Regions from separate parts of the Homo sapiens genome. Here all the other regions are linked to region 1. Evidence: promoter capture Hi-C in 16 types of primary human blood cells and fetal thymus (Javierre and others, 2016). All regions are on one chromosome and are shown on one strand. The core of a region is centred on a gene start or on the middle of the fragment in contact, and the rest is flanking DNA. Distances in the headings are between cores, read along the strand shown. Region 1 holds the start of TMBIM1 (transmembrane BAX inhibitor motif containing 1). Region 2 holds the start of ARPC2 (actin related protein 2/3 complex subunit 2). Region 3 has its middle 22 kb from the start of CXCR1. Region 4 overlaps SLC11A1 (solute carrier family 11 member 1).

Evidence for each region. Contacts are between HindIII fragments. The CHiCAGO score rates a contact against its expected background, and 5 or more counts as called.
Region 2: the fragment with the promoter of ARPC2 here is called in contact with the fragment with the promoter of TMBIM1 in region 1 in 3 of 17 cell types (naive CD4 T cells, naive CD8 T cells and non-activated CD4 T cells); the score reaches 5.9 in naive CD4 T cells.
Region 3: a fragment that was not itself captured here is called in contact with the fragment with the promoter of TMBIM1 in region 1 in 1 of 17 cell types (M2 macrophages); the score reaches 5.2 in M2 macrophages.
Region 4: a contact is called between a fragment that was not itself captured here and the fragment with the promoter of TMBIM1 in region 1, in 11 of 17 cell types (erythroblasts, total CD8 T cells, monocytes and 8 more). The highest score is 7.5, in erythroblasts.

Annotation. Positions count from the first base shown.
Region 1 is chr2:218,291,127-218,293,826 of GRCh38, reverse strand. It overlaps TMBIM1 (transmembrane BAX inhibitor motif containing 1), which reads left to right and starts at 1,324. Exons shown (of 12, transcript NM_022152.6): 1 at 1,324-1,361. The region is part of intron 2 of PNKD (PNKD metallo-beta-lactamase domain containing); the gene reads right to left. RefSeq lists enhancers at 1-646, 829-1,791, 1,792-2,700 and a silencer at 1,067-1,546. The HindIII fragment of the contact is 24,107 bases long and covers 1-2,700 here.
Region 2 is chr2:218,215,939-218,218,638 of GRCh38, reverse strand. It overlaps ARPC2 (actin related protein 2/3 complex subunit 2), which reads right to left and starts at 1,450. Exons shown (of 11, transcript NM_152862.3): 1 at 1,385-1,450; 2 at 1,095-1,176. The coding sequence starts at 1,168. LOC101928487 (a long non-coding RNA gene) reads left to right here and starts at 1,453. Exons shown (of 2, transcript XR_923908.2): 1 at 1,453-1,611; 2 at 1,788-2,538. RefSeq lists a silencer at 1,267-1,316 and an enhancer at 838-1,441. The HindIII fragment of the contact is 6,430 bases long and covers 1-2,665 here.
Region 3 is chr2:218,187,809-218,190,508 of GRCh38, reverse strand. No RefSeq gene overlaps it. Among named protein-coding and RNA genes, the nearest start is that of CXCR1, 22 kb to the right of the region's middle. The HindIII fragment of the contact is 6,006 bases long and covers 1-2,700 here.
Region 4 is chr2:218,392,971-218,395,670 of GRCh38, reverse strand. It overlaps SLC11A1 (solute carrier family 11 member 1), which reads right to left. Exons shown (of 15, transcript NM_000578.4): 12 at 2,541-2,690; 13 at 1,478-1,551; 14 at 886-1,039; 15 at 1-746. The coding sequence ends at 636. Among named protein-coding and RNA genes, the nearest start is that of CTDSP1, 5.5 kb to the left of the region's middle. RefSeq lists enhancers at 415-1,083, 1,084-1,752, 2,422-2,700. The HindIII fragment of the contact is 5,382 bases long and covers 1-2,700 here.

The DNA.
Region 1 (2,700 bases), core at 75-2,574:
CAGCCTATGCAACAACGTGAAAACCCATCTCTACAAAACAAACAAACCAAACAAAACAAACAAGCAAACAAACAAAATTAGCTGGGTGTAGTGGCACACACTTGTAATCCCAGCTACTCAGGAGGCTGAGGCCGGAGAATCACTTGAAACCAGGAGGAGGATGCAGTGAGCCGAGATGGCGCCACTGCACTCCAGCCTGGGTGACAGAGCGAGACCCTGTCTGGAAAAAAAAAAAAAAAAAAAAAAGGACATTCAGTGGTGGTGTGGTGCTGACCTATAGCTATTAACATGAGATAAGCACTTTAAACAGAGTTGGTCAACTACTGGCAGCCTTGGTGTCATGGAAAGAACTTGGACTTTGGAACCACAGAAACTCAGGCAAGGCTCGGTAATGTTTCTCTTTTTAAATTGAGACAAGGTCTCTCTATGTTGCCTAGGCTGGGTCTCCAACTCCTGGGCTCAAGCCATCCTCTGGCCTTGGCCTCCCAAAAGTGCTAGGATCGCAGGTGTGAGTCACCATGCCCAGGCTCCAGTAATATTTCAGAACTTCCTCAAAACTGTTTCCTCCTTTGCTACTGCATTCTTCACTGAGATGAGGGTTAAGACCTACCTAACAGTAGTAATCTACATCTCAATGTAGGACTTCTGAATTCTGACTTGAGGAAAGCACCTGCTTTCCTGGTTGAGTAATTATAAACAGAGATTCTAGGTTTGCATGTTTGCAGTTTTAAACTCGAAAAGTGCATTTATCTCAAAAACACAGAATTATCAAGGATTTTAATTACTGATTTATTTGTAATGTAAAAATGGGAAACAAACGGCCTCCAGTAGGAAATTAATTTAATCCGCATAGCCATGCAATGGAATACTTCACGGCATTAAGATTGTGCTTTTGAAGACTATTTAGTGAGAAGAAAAATGTTCATCATAAAACAGTAAAAAGAAGGGCAGTAAACAAAACACCATACAATATACCCCACTGTAGAAAAACAAAATACATACAGAAATGTAATAGCCAAAGAAGGACCCAAAGCGAACGCTTCCCCCTGGGAACTAGGAGGGGTGGAGAGAAATTACTTTCTTCCCTGCATTTCTGTGTCTTTTCTAGCTTCCTATCAGTATCATGTATTGCCTTTAAATCCGAAAATACCCCTGTGTTATTAGTGAGGCGTCGTCGGGGCTCTGAGAGGCGCGCGCGCCCGGGACAGACCCCTGCGCCCCCTGGCGGCGCCCTGAGGCCCCGCCCCACGAGGCCGGCGCGACGGGGCGGGGCGCGGAGCCCCAGCCGAGCCTAGCCCTGCCCGGCCCCGGAGGACTTGCAACACTCCGAGGCCAGGAACGCTCCGTCTGGAACGGCGCAGGCAAGCCAGGGGGCCGGGGCCGGCGCCGTTGGGGACTGTGGGCGGTGGGGACTGGTCCAGGGCTGGGGCGGCCATGCGCCGGGGCGCCTAAACTTTTCGGAGCGCGCTCCCGGCTTGCCCGCTCCTGGGCCCAAGGAGCCCGTTCCAGATGGGGATCTCCCCTCCTGGCCCTTGGCGTTTCGCTCTCCCTGGGCGCGCGGGTGGGCGGCCGGGTCTGTGGCACCTGGTTAGCCTTGGGAGCCCAGCAGCGTGTTGTGGGCACTGGTGAGCGGAGCCAGGGTCTGGGGGTGTCCTCGTGTTCCCTCTTTCGGGCACGAGTGGCCTCTCTGTCGCAGGGCCTATCCACCATGCCAGCCCGAGTGGCCAGCTGTGTGGGATGAGGGCTTTCATGGCCCTCAGCTGGTGAGAAGAGGGAAGAGGGAGGGGAGACAGCCAGGGCCTGGCACGGACCCCAGGTTGCCCCCACACGCGCTGAGGCCAGTCTCGGTGTAGACAGGTGAATATTTAAGGGGTGGGGAAGGGGGGGTCCTAGCTTGCAGCTGGGGCAGAAGCCAATGAGCAGCTCAAGTGTTTGGCATGGGGAAGTGGCCACCTCTATCACCATGACTTTGCCCTCTGCCAGTCCCACTTCCAGCCACTGTTTCCCGGCTGGGTTCACAGAACTACAGGGGAGTAACATCCTCCTCGTGACTTCTTTGGGTTAGAGTGAAAACAAAACAGAGAAACGGGAAAAGGGAAAGCAAGTGGAGAGACTGGGGCAGGAGCCAGGGACCAGTGGGAGGAAGCAGAGGGAGGCTGCTGGGAGGCCAGGCCCTGGCCTTGTGGGGTCGGCACCAATTCTTGTCCTATGGGGTCTCCATCTCCTCTCCCTCCTCTGTGGCCTCTACGTGGTACCCAGGAGTTTGGGGTTCTACCTGAGCACCCTGGACATGGGATAAGTAGGCCTGGGAACGCAGGTCAGAGCCAGATGTCATGGAAGGGCCCTCAGGTGTCCAGTTCTCTGGGCTCTGAAATATTCATCTCATTAGTGAGCTTTGGTTTCCAAGCTGGCGACTTTGGGCTGGCCAGTGGTGGCAGGGGAGCCAGGTGCCTCCTGGGGCTGCTTTATTGGCGCAAAGGGGGAGCCATACTTCCTTCTCACCTGCCTCCTCTCTCTGTCTCTCCAGTCATGAGGATCCAGAGAACCAGTTTATAGCTTAAATGGAAGAGGCAGGACCACAGTGTCAGGGGCCCTGTCTTTCTGTGCTATGACCTCAAGGCCTCACTTGTAAAAATGAGCCCTTCAGAGAGGTAATGATGGGTTATCCTGTAAGTGTTGGGAGAGCCTCATGTCATGAGC
Region 2 (2,700 bases), core at 201-2,700, 75 kb after region 1:
TCCCAGTTCACCAGAAACGGTCTGCACTTATTAACTGTGAAACCCAGATGTGAAGCCCCATGCTCATACATAGGGAAATGAGGCAAAGGGACTGGCCACAGGCCACCAAAAATTAGAACCCAAAATCCTTAGCTCATGTTTTAAATATTATACTAGAAAAGCAAAGCAGCTTTGGAGGAGCAGATTGTCTTCTACTGATTCTTGTGTTTGGCAGAGAGGCTGCCTTGGAAAGATGCCCTAAGCCCATCTTTTAAAAAGTCCAATCGTAAAGACAGGTTATCTAAGAACTTTATAGATTCTGGAGTCTTTGAAGTGTGTAACTGGGCCAGGGCTACCACAGAAGAAATCACAGACCTAGGGTCTTGATGTAAGAATTTACAAGATAACCAGATAAAGGCTAGTGGGTGAGGAGAGAGCATTAGAACCTCAAAGGAGAGATAAGGAAGGGGTGTGGAGCGAGGGACAATTGGCTTTGCTTTAAAAATATGTAACAAAATGGCCCAGTGTCTCTCACAGAAGGGTTCGGGGAAGGGAAACCAGAGATCGCGTTTTTCCGGCTCTAAGACTGGGTCGGCTTTTAGTCTTCTCTTCTGCTCCTTTTAAAGGAGATGGGGGTGGGGAACGAGAATGCTGGTGGCGATGTGGGCCTGCATCTCCTTCCCTCCTCCAGTCCTGGGAATTCCTGAAAACTCCTTCCAACCCAATTCCAAACAGGCTCTCTCTGGGTTCAGAACAATGCCGGGGAATTTCACGCAGGGAAGGGGTCCCCTTCTCGCCCCAGAGGGCAGGGGGCTACTCCGGAGCGAGTTCCGGCTCCAGGGTCCCCCACGTCCCACAGGTCTCCTGCCCTTTGGCACGCACAGCCCTCACCACTCGCTGCTTCCGCATCCCTCCTCTGAGCCTCTCCCCACGCATCTCTGCCCCTCGCCCGGCCGCGCCCAATCGCCTCCCACGTCTACCCCGCTGGGGCAGCCCCTACACCCTGCCAGGCACCCCATTTCTCTCCTCCAGGTCTGGGGGACTGGACAACATTGGGGATTAGCTGGGGTCAACTCTGCTTCCCCCGCCACCCCCGGCCCCGGGCGCGCGCTCACCCGGCGGCCGCGTTCTCGAACTTGAGCGCGAGCGTCTCCTCGATGATGCGGTTGTTCACCTCCAGCAGGATCATGGCGGCGGCTGCCCCCAGGGGAAGGAGAAACAAGGGCCGGTGAGGGTGGGTAAGGGAGGCAAGGACGGAGGGAGCGGCCCTGCTGCCCCCTGAGTGGGGCTGGGTGGGGTAGGAGGTTAGGGGAGAAGGGGAGAGGGGCCGGGGTGGAGGGAAGGGTAAGACGAACGCGCTGGCCCACGCACGCAGACTGTGGAGACACCCACCCACCCAACCGACCTGGCCCCCGAAGCCTGAACCCGCCTGCCGAGCCGCCGCCGCCGCCGCCACTGCCGCTTCACCGACAAGCCCGGTCCCCGCCCAGCCCCCGGCTCTAGCCGGCCACTTCCGCTCTCACACCCACTTCCGCTCGCCGCCTGGACGCGCGGCCCCGCGGCGCCATTTCCGCTTCAACCACTCGTGAACGCGAGCGCAGGCGCGCCGGAGGAAACGGAGGCTGCGCTTGCGTATGTGTGATGCCGCCGCCCCACCGTCTACTTTCCCACCGACCCCGCTTACGTCTACCGCCTACCAGTGCGTCCCCCGCGGAGCTGTCATTCCCCGAGGCTTGCCTGACTGTTCAGCTTCTCTCTCCCGCTTGTCCCAGAGATCCAACTCCATTCTTCCGGTCTTGTCATTTCAGAAACCTCGCAAGAAGCTCGCCCTTGTCGTCTCCCAGCGGGCTTCTTAGCTCCCAGCTTGTTTGATGGGGGTGCCTCTTTTTCTTTCCAGGTATAGCTGTCCAGCGACACCATCATGCATTCATTTCTCCAACAAACATTTTCATGGGCTCTTGCTCTATACTGGGGATGTAGTGGTAAATGAAATGGACGAGGCCCTGCCCTCGTGGAACTTACAGTCTGGCAAAGGAAACAGACAATAAAATTCTCAGTTGTCTAAGGAGGCAGAGATGCATGGGGAGAGGATCAGAGTAGGGATGCGGAAGCAGCGAGTGGTCAGGAGTGTGCGTGCCAAAAGGCAGGAGACCTGTGGGACGTGGGGGCAGCTGGGGCCGGAACTTGCGCTGGAGGAACACCCCTTGCCTGCTGGGGCGAGAAGAGGACCCTTTCCTTGGGTGAAATTCCCCATATTGTTAAAAGGACAATTAAAGAAATGAAAGAGAGGTCACCTGGGTGAATAGGCAACTTAGATGGGCCTCCCTGTGTTCCTGTCATGCCTCCAATTCTGCGTCCAGGTGTCCGGAACACATTTTTTTCTGCCTTTGAAACCTTCCAGTACCTCTGGCAGAGATATACCATACCCTCCTTGTTACCTGCGTGCGGAATCTTAACTCATCGTTGTGCTACATCTGCACCTTCTGCCTTTGTGCCTTGTTTTGTGTTTTCCCTCCTCCGGGGAGAATATAATAAACTTAGCTGAGTCCGTTCTACATACAAGGAAATAATTTATTTTCTGCTATGTGTTTGGGGATGGGGATAAAAAAATGAACAAGAAACTAGCTCCTATCATTAAGGCACAGATAGCCCTTTGAAACATTACTTAACGGGCTATGGATAAGCTTCAGGATATTGCTGATCCCCTAAAATTATACGCTA
Region 3 (2,700 bases), core at 171-2,670, 100 kb after region 1:
CACACTGGAGTGCAGTGGTGCGATCTTGGCTCACTGCAACCTCCGCCTCCCAAATTCAAGTGATTCTCCTGCCTCAGCCTCCCAAGTAGCTGGGATTACAGGCATGCGCCACCATGCCCTGCTAATTTTTGTATTTTTAGTAGAGACGGGGCTTCACCATGTTGGCCAGGCTGGTCTCAAACTCCTGACCTCAAGTGATCCTCCTACCTTGGCCTCCTAAAGTGCTAGGATTACAGGCGTGAGCCACTGCACCTGGCCTTTAGTGTTTTCTTTTGATGTAAAATTTGTAGACAATGAAGTGCACAAATCTTAAGTGTATATTCACTAAGTTTCAACTAATAGGTGCCCCTGTGTAATCCCAATGCCCATCAATATAGAAAACATTACCATCATTCCTAAAAATCCTCTCATGTCCCCCCATGGCTGGTTTGTCTCTGCCTCCATCCTCCCAGAGGTAACTTCTGCTCTGATTATTTTCAGATTAGTTTCACCTGTTCTAGAACTTCATAGAAGTGGAAGGCTTCTTTTACTCAGTGTAATGTTTTTAAGATACATCATGTTGTGGAGTATATCAGTAATTCAGTCCTTTTTATTGATGAGAATGACTCCATTGTATGACTATTCCACTGTATGTTTAGCCATTCTCCTATTGATGGACACCTGGACTGTTTCTAGTTTTTGGCAATTATCAATAAAGCTATTGATATTTTTGTGAACATATTATTTTCATTTCTCTTGGGCATATTCCTAGGAGTGGGATTGCTGGGTCAGAAAGTAGAAGAAACTGCCAGACCTTTTACCAAAGTGTTTGCACCATTTTACATTCCCACTAATTATATGTGAGGATTCCAGCTATACTACAACCCACTAATAGTCGATATTATCATGCTTTTGTATTTTTAGTCATTCTGGTGATGTGATGTTTGATTGTGTAATGAGATTTCTTTTCTTTTTCTTTCTTTTTTTTCTTTTCAGATAGAATCTCACTTTCACCCAGGCTGGGTCTCAGCTCACTGCAACCTCTGCCTACGAGGCTCAAACAATTCTCCCACCTCAGCCTCTTGAGTAGTTGGGACTATAGGTGCATATCAGCACGCCTGGCTAATTTTTGCATTTTTTGTAGAGATGGGGTTTCGCCAGGCTGCCCAGGCTGGTCTCAAACTCCTGGCCTCAAGTGATCCACCTGCCTTGGCCTCCCAAAGTGCGTGGATTACAGGCGTGAGCCACTGTGTCTGGCCCACATTGTTGATAAAACCTTCCTTTCCCTCACTGGATTGCTTTGGAACTTCTGTTGAAAATCAAGTGATGGTGTAAGTGTGGCTCTATTTCTAGGATTTCTTTTACATTCTAGGTTTAGCTGAGTTTTGCCATGAGCTCAGTGTTGTCAAATCTTCAATTTTTTTTTTTTTTTTTTTTTTTTTTAAGATGGAGTTTTGCTTTTGTCTCCCAGGCTGGAGTGCAATGGTATGATCTCGGCTCACTGCAACCTCTACCTCCCGGGTTCAAGTGATTCTCCCGCCTCAGCCTCCTGAGTAGCTGGGATTACAGGTGCATGCCACCATGTCCAGCAAATTTTCATATTTTTAGTGGAGACAGGGTTTCACCATGTTGGCCAGGCTCTTCTTGAACTCCTGACCTCAGGTGATCCACCCGCCTTGGCCTCCCAAAGAGCTGGGATTACAGGCATGAGCCATGGCGCCCAGCCCAGATCTTCAAAATTTTAAAGGAGAGTGTATAAATCCAGATGTTTTTAAATGTGAAAAAGCCTCAAGGTTTAAAAGTCAGAAACCAATTCTAATTTAAACAAACAAGGAAACCAATCCCAGGCAGTCAAAGAAACTCATCTGCAGGCTGAACTAGATGTGTGGCATTGGAACAGGGAGAGGTAGTTTCAGCAGGAGTCTGGATACATGTGTGTATATATATGTATATAAAATTATTTTTTGAGACAAGGTTTTGGTCTGTTGCCCAGGCTGGAGTGCAGTGGTGTGATCATGGCTCATTGCATCCTTGACCTCCTGGGCTTGAGCAATCCTCCCACCTCAGCCTCCTGAGTAGCTGGGACCACAGGTGTGTTCCACCACACCTGGCTAATTTTGAAAATTGCTTTGTAGAGGTATGAGGTTCCACTGTGTTGCCCAGGCTGGTCTTGAATGCCTGGGCTTAAACGATCCTCCTGCCTCGACCTCCTAAAGTGCTGGAATTACAGGGGTGAGCCACTGTGCCCAGCCTGGATATATGTATATTAAAGTATAAATCAAGGGTCTTATTTTAATTGAAAGATAATGGGAGTGTTCTCAGGGCAAGTAGGTGGGTTCCAGTGGTCAGTGAAAGTCAATAAGAATTCACTGCAAGGGTAAAATTAAAGCCTGTGGGTCAAGGTTTCCTTGGTGCCTAGGAAAGTGGAGGAGCACATTTGTGAAGCTATTAGAATTGCATTTAGAAACCGTAAGGACAGGAAGGGCTAAGGGGAGGCACTGAGTGGAGGCAGTTGACAAACCAGTGACAGGAAAGACACAGGGCCAAGAGAGCCCAAAGTGAGCTGATTTGGAGAATCTGGAGCAGAGGGAATAAAGAGAATCACAGGTCTCTAAACCCAGGGCCCAGAAAGATGCTCCCTGGAATTGGCTGGAGGCTTCCTTGGCTCTGTGGGTGGAAATTGAGACAGAGCAGCCAGAAGACATACAACTGCACATGCCA
Region 4 (2,700 bases), core at 6-2,505, 100 kb before region 1:
GACCAGCCTGGCCAGCATGGCAAACCCCGTCTCTGCTGAAAATACACAAATTAGCTGGGCGTGGTGGCGCGCGCCACTCCCGGGGCTGAATAAAGAGAATCGCTTGAACCCAGAAGGTGGAGGTTGCAATGAGTTAAGATTGCGCCACTGCACTCCAGCCTTGGCAACAGAGGGAGACCCTTTCCCTGTCTCAAATAAATAAATAAATAGATAGATAGATAATTTAACATTCATCAGACACTATTTCAAGCTCCAGTTTGGAGCCTGTGTCCCGCCCAAGTCCTCAAGCCCTCACCCCACCCACCCTTGGGCTGTCAGGTCACGCCTGCAGGTGCTCAATAAATACCTTTTGAAATGTTTTTCGTTTGTTTGTTTTTGTCCCAAGTGCCAGACACTGTGTTAAAGTGCTTAACCTCCATGGCAAGGGTGGTGGTGTCTCCATTTTACAGATGAGGACACTGAGACCCAGAGGGTAATCACATGGCTGCGCTAGGAAACAGCAGGTCCCTAAAGCCCCCAGGTTGGCTGGTCTCAGGAACTGTCCCACTCTATCCTGCTGCCTGCACGCGCCCCCTCCACATCCAGCAGGCCAGTCACGTCATACATGCCACTCCCAGCCAGGCCCTGGTGTGGGCCTAGCCAGAGGTCTCCCCTTTCTGGTCCTCTTCAAGGAGCCCATACAGGAAGTGGTGGTGGGAGCTGTGGGCCAGAAAGGTGGCTCCGTGGGCAAGGCAACAGGTCCAGACCTGGGGGAGGGGCAACCATGAATTGGGGAGATGCCAAGACCTCTGGGGAAGCCCCATTGTGTCCCCCCAAACCCTCCCCATTGGTTGCCTCTTGTCCTTCCCTCATCCATTCCCAAGGCATCCCCTGGCCCTACTGTACCAGGTAGGTGCTGAGGCCCAGGTAGGCTGCGGCCAGCAAGGCTGCAAGGCCGAAGTAGGCAGGGTGGGGCAGGCTGGGCAGATAGCTGACCACGAAGTAGAGGTTGATGGCGCAGACTAGCACCATGATGGAAGAGGTGACGACCTTGTTCAGCCTGGGGGACACGAGAGAGGCTCAGGACTGGCTGGTTGCTGCTGGCCCACCTGCATCAACTCCTCTTCATCTCCCAGCGCCCACACTGGGGGTGGGGATACACTGAGGCCGCTTCTCTGGTCTGTGGGACCTGGAGCAGACAGACCCCCTCCCCACCTCCTGCCTCCTGGGCCCTCCAGGCTACACACTGGCGGGATTTGGCAAGAGCTGAGTCTGAGGCGAGAGTGAGGCGCTCAGGCTCTAGAAACAGCCCTCTTCCCTGGATTCCAGTCTTGGCTCCTCAACTTGCTAGCTGTGTGAACCTGGGTAAGTCCCTTAACCTCTCTCAGCCTCTGTGGCTTCATTGGGATAATGGGGAGAATTGTAGCTCGTACCTCTGGGTGGCTGTGAGGATGAAATGTGGTGATGCAATCCAGCACTTGGGAAAGGGGGTACTCACAGGCCATTGGCAAACTCCTGCATGAGGGTGGGCATGCTGGTGAACGTGAGGATGGGCAGCACGGCGAACGGGAGCTGGGGAGAGCAGCAGGAGCCTAGGCTGAGGAATTCTGCCTCAGAATATGGCAAGGGTGGGGGCAAGATGGGCGTGGCTTGACACCCTCTGTGTGGGTGTGAGCTCAACTGCCCTAACCACACTGAGCCTACTTCCCCGTCTCCTGCCTTATCAGGTTGTGGGCTCCAAAGCAGGAGAAAGTGTTTGGGGGCTCTGGCACCAGGTTGCTTCGGTTTGAATCCAAGCCCTGCCACTAGTAACTTAACTGAGTGCATCAGTTTTCCCATCTGTAAAATGGAATAATGAGCCTGGGCAACAAACATAATGAGCTTTTGTCTCTACTTAAAAAAAAAAAAAAATTAGACCTGCCTCAGTGGCTCATGCCTGTAATCCTTGCACTTTGGGAGGCCAAGGCGGGTGGATCACCTGAGGTCAGGAGTTTGAGACTAGCCTGGCCAACATGATGAAACCCTGTCTCTACTAAAAATACAAAAAATTAGCTGGGTGTGATGGTGGGCGCTTGTAATCTCAGCTACTTAGGAGGCTGAGGCAGAAGAATCGCTTGAACCTGGGAGGCAGAGGTTGCAGTGAGCCAAGATCTCACCACTGCACTCTAGCCTGGGTAACAAGAGTGAAACTCCGTCTCAAAAAAAAAAAAAAAAAAATTAGCTGGGTGTGATGGCATGCACCTATAGTCCCTGCTACTCGGGAGCCTGAGGTGGGAAGATTGCTAGAGACAGGGAGGGCAGGCTGCAGTGAGCCATGATTGAACCACTGCACTCCAGCCTAGGTGACAGAGGGAGACCATCTGGGGGGTGGGAGGGGGGAAGGATAATGGTGATTCCTACCCTCCTGCCCCCCAGGGTGGCTGTGGGGACAATGGAAGCCTTGTAGGCAAGATGTGCCTGGGACAGGGCCTGGCAGGCCCATGCAAGGCTCAGCGTGGGGGTTGCTGGAGGTCCTGTTTCGCTCAGCAGTGGGCAGGGCTGGTGGGGTTGGCGCATCTCACCAGCAGGCTCTGCAGCACGTTGAGCAGATCATTGAGGCCCGACAAGTCCCTCAGGTCCCGGAAGACAGCCACGAGCACGGTGGGCAGGATGGCGCAGGAGCGGGTGAGGAGGACACGGGCGAAGCGTGACCACCGCAGCCTCAGGAAGCCCTGGGGTGGG